2 separate regions of the Homo sapiens genome follow, and region 2 is linked to region 1. The links are contacts of gene promoters, found by promoter capture Hi-C in blood cells and fetal thymus (Javierre and others, 2016). All regions are on one chromosome and are shown on one strand. The core of a region is centred on a gene start or on the middle of the fragment in contact, and the rest is flanking DNA. Distances in the headings are between cores, read along the strand shown. Region 1 holds the start of TCF21 (transcription factor 21). Region 2 has its middle 56 kb from the start of EYA4.

Region 1 (3,680 bases), core at 168-2,667:
TCTTAAATCTTGGGTGAGAGTGACCTATTTTAGTATTTATTACACTCATACTAGTGAGGATTTACTGATTTTGCTGATCATTACTAGAACTTCTGGGATTTAAAAATATTAATCCACTTATAGGAGAAGCACAGAATATTTAAGCGGTTAAGGGCTTACGTGGACAATTTGGGGGGCATAGATGTGTCCTTATCCAATGGTCCTAAATATGCTTGTGAAAGAAACGGAGTTGGGTGTTTTTATTTACAAGGAAAGGAAAATCAAGTTCCACTCTCTGCTAAAAGAAGAAAAAAGGATTAACAAAATGCCTGTCCGCTCGCAGCGTCTTGTCAGTGTTCTCAGTTCCGCAGCAGCCACTGCACCCCAGGGAGGATGGCGATGGAGCGGGAGCGGGGGATCCCTCCTCTGTGCCAGCTCAACACACTTGCAAACTTTTAATTGGGCTGCCACGTCAAACCCTCGCATAAATCACTCCCGCTCCGGGGGCTGGTAGGGCAGAGAGCGAGGGCCGTGTCTAGACCGCCCGCCTCCGGTCCCTGGAGGCTCTAGGCCCGCGGTGGTCGAGATGTGTAAGTCACCGCCGCGCCCACACCCCCACTCCCAGCCCCGCGCGCACTCGCGCCCACCGCAGGCGGGAGTGCGGGCGCGCCTGGACTGCAGCTGCAGCCCCGGGAGCACTCACCAGGTTGACCGGGTGAATGTACCCGTTCTCGTATTTGTCGTTAGCCAGGATCTGCCTCAAGTGGGCGATGTAGCTGGACGCCAGCCTGAGCGTGTCCAGCTTGGAGAGCTTGGTGTCGGGGGGCACCCAGGGCAGGGTGGTCTTGAGTCTGGAGAAGGCCTTGCTCAGCACTCGCATGCGGGCCCGCTCTCGCGCGTTGGCGGCGTTGCGCTGGACCTGCTTCCCCTCCTGGCTGACCCCGCTCAGGGGGCTCTTCTTGGTGGGCGCCTTCCTCCTCTTGCCCAGGCCGCCGCGGCCCTTCTGGGGAGACCCATTCTCGCAGTTGGAGCTCTCCTCGGTGCTCTCGTTGGAAGTCACAAATTCCTTGTTCGAATCCATTTTCAACCCGTCACATTCCAACATCTCCACCTCTTGAAGGTCCTCCACATCGCTGAGGGAGCCGGTGGACATGTTTGGGGGAGTGGACGAGGGAGAGAGAGAGAGAGAGACAGAGAGACAGAGAAAGCGAGGAAGAGGGTGAGAGAGAGACAGAGAGACCCTGAAACCAAGAGGCCTCCCGAGTGTGGCGCAGCCACCTCCTGCTGGGAGCTGGAGTTGGGGTCTGGTTGGGTCTCACAACCCTTTCCCCTTCGCAGAGTTGTGAGAAGGAACCCCGAGGACTTCTGCAGCAGAGGAACCGGCTCTCTGTTTCCCCACTCCCAGAGTCGTGGCCGTAGAGGAGGGTGAGCGAGCGCTGAGGAATTTGGTGGACACTAGGAATTTATCTGGGGAATAGAGGGGCGGATCCTTGCAGCCCAGGGAGGGGCCTGCCAGGCCCCAGCAAAGCGCTTAGACCCCTTTCACAACCGGAGGGAAACTCAATGCACAGACCCTGATTTGCAACTTGTAATGTAAATCAACTCAACTGCATCATGTACTTACCAGCCACCTTCTCCCAACTGTGGCCGGGGCCGAGAAGCAGCATGTTCTGTCCATCTGTAAAAGGCCTTCTTTCTCTCTTAAGACGTCACAACTGGTTGTTACTGAGAACTTTAGAAAAACGACTAGATCGTTTGGCTCTTTCTGGGCCTTCCACCTACACTCCATGCCCTCTCTCCTCCCAAGAAAACACGAATTAAAATACAGGGAGTATCAACCGCATCCTGCCAACACCTCATAAGACTCCAAGGCTTTACCGAGATCTTCCACCTTCCCCGGGATAAATGAAGACAAGTGCTTCCTAGAATCTTTATGGTGATGGAAAAGTAAGTATAAAACATTTCACCTACACCTGGTCATTTTCAAGACATCAAAGGACTGCCTACGTGTACACAAACATACTTGATTTGCACACTCAAACCCAACCACACACAGCTTAGTGGGAGTGGGTAGGGAATGAGAGGGCAGTATGAGTGTGTGGAAAACATTATGTTAGTTGATCATCTTTTCCTAATAAATGGAAACTTTCCCCTCGGTTTTTTTTTCTTTTCTAGAAATGCATTTAATATTGCCTTGAGAGTCTTTGTTGCTCTCAGACATCACCTTGCCTGGCACTTTTTGTGATGCACCGTCCCTTTCAATGCTGCTGTCTTTGTCTTCTTCCAGCCTGTTAGGTGCCAGTGTTCCTCACATGAAGCTGACATTACACAACACAAAGCAAGACTATCCTTTTGAGAAAGGTTCTTTTCCATCTTTAACCCCAGCTCGAACCACCTTTCCTAGAGAATAAGAAAGTCTCCTGGGAAGTAGGTAGAAAAAGCACAGGGAAACAGAACCTAGGGATTGGATGAAATTGGTGCAATGAAACCAGGGAGACTGAAGGCATAAATCTCTCTTACAATTTCTTTGCCAGGTTTTCTTCCCTTGCAGGTAGGCATTGAAGTTGAGGGGCTGGAGCAAAATGTAAGAGTGGTTTCTGAGTGGTTGGCTTAGGGTCTGAAGGCTTCTCCTACATTAAGATATCATATCTCTAATCCTAGGCTCAGCTGGGAATTCACTAACCTCTAACGTTTTGTTTTGCTAGCAGGGTCTTGTTTGCTTTCCCCCTATGCTGTAAACTAAACAGGTTGTCAGCAAATCAGTCTTTATTAATGAATTAGCGACCCCTCTTCCATAATATCTTCGCTGAGGATCCAAAATTTGTTAATCACCAGTGTAGAGATTTATGAGCTCTCTTATTTTCTGTTGTTTGTGCAGGTGGAGATTTAAATGACCACATCCACCCTAAGATTTATTGTGAGAATGATTGATGTTATAAACCAGGAAAAGGACTCTTCCCACAGCAGGGATGACAGAAATATCAAGTTGAAGTTGCCTTTGTCTTCACATACGAATGACCCAGTACTACAACACAGAAAGTATAATAATTTAATCTGAGGTTCAAGACAGCAGTGAGAGAACACCCAGCAGGCCTGTTAAAAATTTCTTCACTAATTCCTCAACTAGTTTCCTTTGATTTGCTCTCCCTTTTCTCAGTCTTGGTAAAACATGAAAGTTAAAGTTATTTTTAGACTAAAGAGCTATGTGAAAATGGGCATTGGCCAATACTTTGTGAAATGTGTGTGTGTGTGTGTGTGTGTGTGTGTAGCTACTAAGATATCTGCAAAATAACTACAAATAATTAATTTGGGCTCTGGAATGTGATAATTATTATAAATCCAAACTATGGCCTTACTGCATACATTAAGCTGTGATTTTTCTTGTTGGAGCCATTTTTTTTTCTTTTTGGCTCTGGGTCTCTGTTACACCTTAGTTAATGGACTGCTCAGGCTGTCTGGGGAGATAGTAAAAATCATAGTAATATGTACCACTGAAAAGATTTCTGTTGTCTGTATATTTTTCAATGTTGGAAACTTAAAAGTACCAATTTCTGGAAGCATGTAAAACTAGCCTCATGTCATAGGCTGGTTTTTATGCTTAGCAATTATTTTTCTTCATAGCCATATAAGAAATAATTAAGTCCCATGTCCATTTATCTTGCAGTAAGACATTTGGGCTGAGAAAGGCTAGTGGGCTGATA
Region 2 (3,655 bases), core at 311-2,810, 700 kb after region 1:
CAAATTTTACCACTGTAAGTCATATATTTTCCAAATACCCATCTACACTTCAGACATCATCCTTAGATTTTCATCTATGACCAAATCTGGAGAGATTTTAGCTCATGTATGAGAAAAAGAAAGAAAATAGAAACAAAAACTGTTTAGTAAAATGAAAACCCACCCCCACCCCCAACACGCAAAGAACACACAGAAAGAAACCTTATACAGAAATGCAATTTGTTAGGAGCTAACGTTATTAGCCACCACTGAGATAAGCAAAATTGATCTCAGACACAGAAAAGGAGGGGGAATAGTTTTTTCAGTGTTTTCTAATTGAATTTTAATATTTGATAATAGCAAACATTTTGTTTTGATGAAGCCAAATTGTTCACTAGTCTTAAGATTACAAATTAATTACATTTAGGATTACAATAAAGAAGAATGCCTACCAAGTAGAAGCAATAAAACATTCTAATGTAACTGCAGGGTTAGAATTATTATCTCATAAATAATTCATTTGTGAAATGCAATTTTTGTTCCTCTTTTAAAATATAAAATTAAAAAAGTAAGTGAAGGTCTTGTGGGTTTGTCATTGGTGTGTATTTAAAGAATAGTAATAGTTTTCTCATCTAACAGAAATGAAATCTGCTAATGTTGGGATATCTGGATTTTTTAGATTATGTTGTCTTTTATTTGAAAAGAAACTTAAGCTATAAAACACAAGAGAAAGTGCTTAAGTACCTTCACACATATTCTTTTCAGTAAAATAATGTCAGCCATCAAAAGCCGTTTCAAGTGCAATCCGTACAGTAATAGTTAACTAGATAAGTTCAAGTTGGCAGTTCTTGCAGTGAGTTCAGCTTCCAACTGTATTACCATTCCTCATTTCTTTGTTAGTTGTAATAGTAGGTTGCCAGGTTTTTTTCTTTCAAAAGCTTATAAAATTCATAGTTAAGAGGCAGGTCTATGAAAATTTAAAACCAAAGGAGAAGATGAATTCAAAAGCAGCTGCTTATGGAGTTTTATTGCAATATTTCACTGCAAGCCATGATGTCTTCACAGCAGCTTCATACTTAAAAGATTCTGAAAGTTGATTGATTGTTTCCAAACTGCTACATAGTTTTATTTGATTAACCATGTATATTTTTGCCAATATGTCTGGCTACCTATTTAAAGTTAGTGCATGGCTGGCAGTATTACAAAAACAGATTTTAAGGATTGGAATCAGATTTGGCAGTAAAGGATTTGGTTCCAAACTCATAGGTGATCTTAAAATTTCATTTGACATAAAAAGAAAAACTTTTCCAGTCAAAAACAAAAGATTCTACTTTCATTGAAAAAAAGCTTCTTGGCTGCCAAATATGTTTATTTTTCTTATGTATTTGCTCTATCACTGATTCCTCGGAAGAAAGAACCTCAAGTGATACTATTTTAAAATATACGCACATACACACAAAAAATTTAATCAAGATCTTTAGATGTGAAGTAAAAAGCTTACTCCTTTAAAGTAAAGAAAAAAAAAAAGACATCTTTTCAAAAGTTCATTGCAATAAAAGAATCTTTTGTCCTTCCTCTTGGCATTTTAAGGTTTTAACGAGTTGTTTATATATCTCAATGGCTTGAAAAGACAGATGTATTTTATGTAATCTTCCATGTAAGCTTTTTTCATTTCCCTTATAAATTACTTTTCCATATTTTAAAATGTAGTTGTGTTTTCAAGGAAAAAATGGCCAAAAAATATGAGCCGTTATTTGTTGGCCACCACGAACCTTTAGATAAAGTAGGTATAAATCACAGTAAGCAATAAAATTTCATCCTAACTATAAACCACAACTTTATTGAAGAAATGTCTATTAAACTTGTGTTGTCTCATTTTCATTTTACCTGAACATTAATGTATGAGTTTCATTTGAAAGCTAACAGTTAACAACCCATGTTTCATATTCTAATTAACATAAGGGACATCTGTTTCAATTAGAGAAAGCAAACTTCCTAAAGATTCTATGATGAACTGCTTTTATCCTCTGTGAGCTAGGGAAGTGGATTATATATAACACATGAAGAAATAAAAAACAGTAAAGAGCAAAGATGCCAAGCCCCTGAAATATATAATTGAATAATAATAATTGAAGTACACACGTCAAGTTGTGTGTGTAGCAAGTTCAACCCACAGAAGCACAGACCTAATGAAATGGTTTCTTGATTTTTAATCTCCATAAACCTTTCCTCCTGCCTTTAACTCTTATAGGTTTGAATACAAATCAAACATAGACCTTAACTTCATCTGAAGAAGCTGGAGTCCAAAAAACAAACAGAAAACAAAACAACTTCTGCAATGGTTTAAGCAGACTAACAAACGTGTGCTTTGATGGATGATTAAAAAGCCCTCAAAGTTAAAGGGGCACAGCTGAGTACATGGCCTACCTTAATATTGCTGTAGTGAGTAATGAGATGCCTCTGGCTTATAAGTACCTAATTGTAATGAAATAATCCAGCCCAATCTTTAAAATTAAGGTAAAGTAAATTCTATTATTTGTGGTATACATAAAAAAGCAATGCGAGAGCTCCCCCTATTGACCCACAATAAAGTATAATGTACCCTGAAATATACTTCCAAATATACATAAACAATATAAAATTTCAGAAGTTTAAGGGATTTTTTTTTTTTAAAGATTGAGTTCATCAGTTTATCTTTGTAGAATCTGAGGCCTAACAACATTTATTGTCATGGGACAAATTAGAGTGGCAGGTTTGTCTCTGCACTGTTTTCTCTGTATTATAGTTTGACATCATACAGTTTGTATAATTCAGAAGTAGGAAAGGGCTAAAGAGACCCCGTTGACCTAACTCCAACTATCTCTGGTCAAATGGACCCAGAGATGCTAAGGGATCTGTATAGGTTTATGGCTTTTTACTAATAGTTGGGAATCAGAATTCCAGTTATATGTTATCTTTCTATTATTTCTGCTCTGGCAGTGTGTTTTGTTTTGAGCCCGACATTTTTATGTTCTTTTTGTAATTTAAGAACATGTTGTTCAAAAATATAAGAATTTGAAGTTCTGGAAAACAAGAGGACATTCGTGGTCAGTAAATTAACTATTCTTCGCCTTCTGATGACACATATTTTTTGTAAACTAACTAGCAAATGCATATTGATAGGGTCTTTATATTTTCATACATGCCCTCAGCTATTAAAATATTTATATGATATGTGTAATTGCTGAAAATGGTAACCTGCTCCTATTATGAAATCACAAAAAACATGAAATATATTTCTCTGATGTGCTTTCTGGTGAAAATATTTATTGGTCACTAATTTGTTAGTATTTATTGGTAATTAATTGGTCAGCATTTATATTAACACTACCATTCCTGTAATTAACCATGAGATGTTATTGATTATATTTATGACATGAACAGGGTTTTTCTCCCTATACTTGAAGGTATGTGAAGATATGTGTGAAGGTATGTGAAGTATGTATGAGTTCAATTAGTATGTTAACTCCTAGAGGGCAAGGGTTATTTTGTGCATCTATTTTTACGCATCTTTTTTTTCAAAGAACACAGATGCAATGAACACAGGGCTTTGAATGCAAGTTTTTGATTTGTCACTGCTTGTTATGCAGCTTCTATTGAAGTCTGCTCACAGGTGCCACTACTGATAGTCCTATTT

Evidence for each region. Contacts are between HindIII fragments. The CHiCAGO score rates a contact against its expected background, and 5 or more counts as called.
Region 2: a fragment that was not itself captured here is called in contact with the fragment with the promoter of TCF21 in region 1 in 1 of 17 cell types (M1 macrophages); the score reaches 5.0 in M1 macrophages.

What each region holds. Positions count from the first base shown.
Region 1 is chr6:133,886,850-133,890,529 of GRCh38, reverse strand. TCF21 (transcription factor 21) reads right to left here and starts at 1,417. Exons shown (of 2, transcript NM_003206.4): 1 at 683-1,417. The coding sequence starts at 1,132. It overlaps TARID (TCF21 antisense RNA inducing promoter demethylation), which reads left to right and starts at 1,524. Exons shown (of 9, transcript NR_109982.1): 1 at 1,524-1,926. RefSeq lists an enhancer at 956-1,869. The HindIII fragment of the contact is 7,636 bases long and covers 1-3,680 here.
Region 2 is chr6:133,183,897-133,187,551 of GRCh38, reverse strand. No RefSeq gene overlaps it. Among named protein-coding and RNA genes, the nearest start is that of EYA4, 56 kb to the left of the region's middle. The HindIII fragment of the contact is 166 bases long and covers 1,478-1,643 here.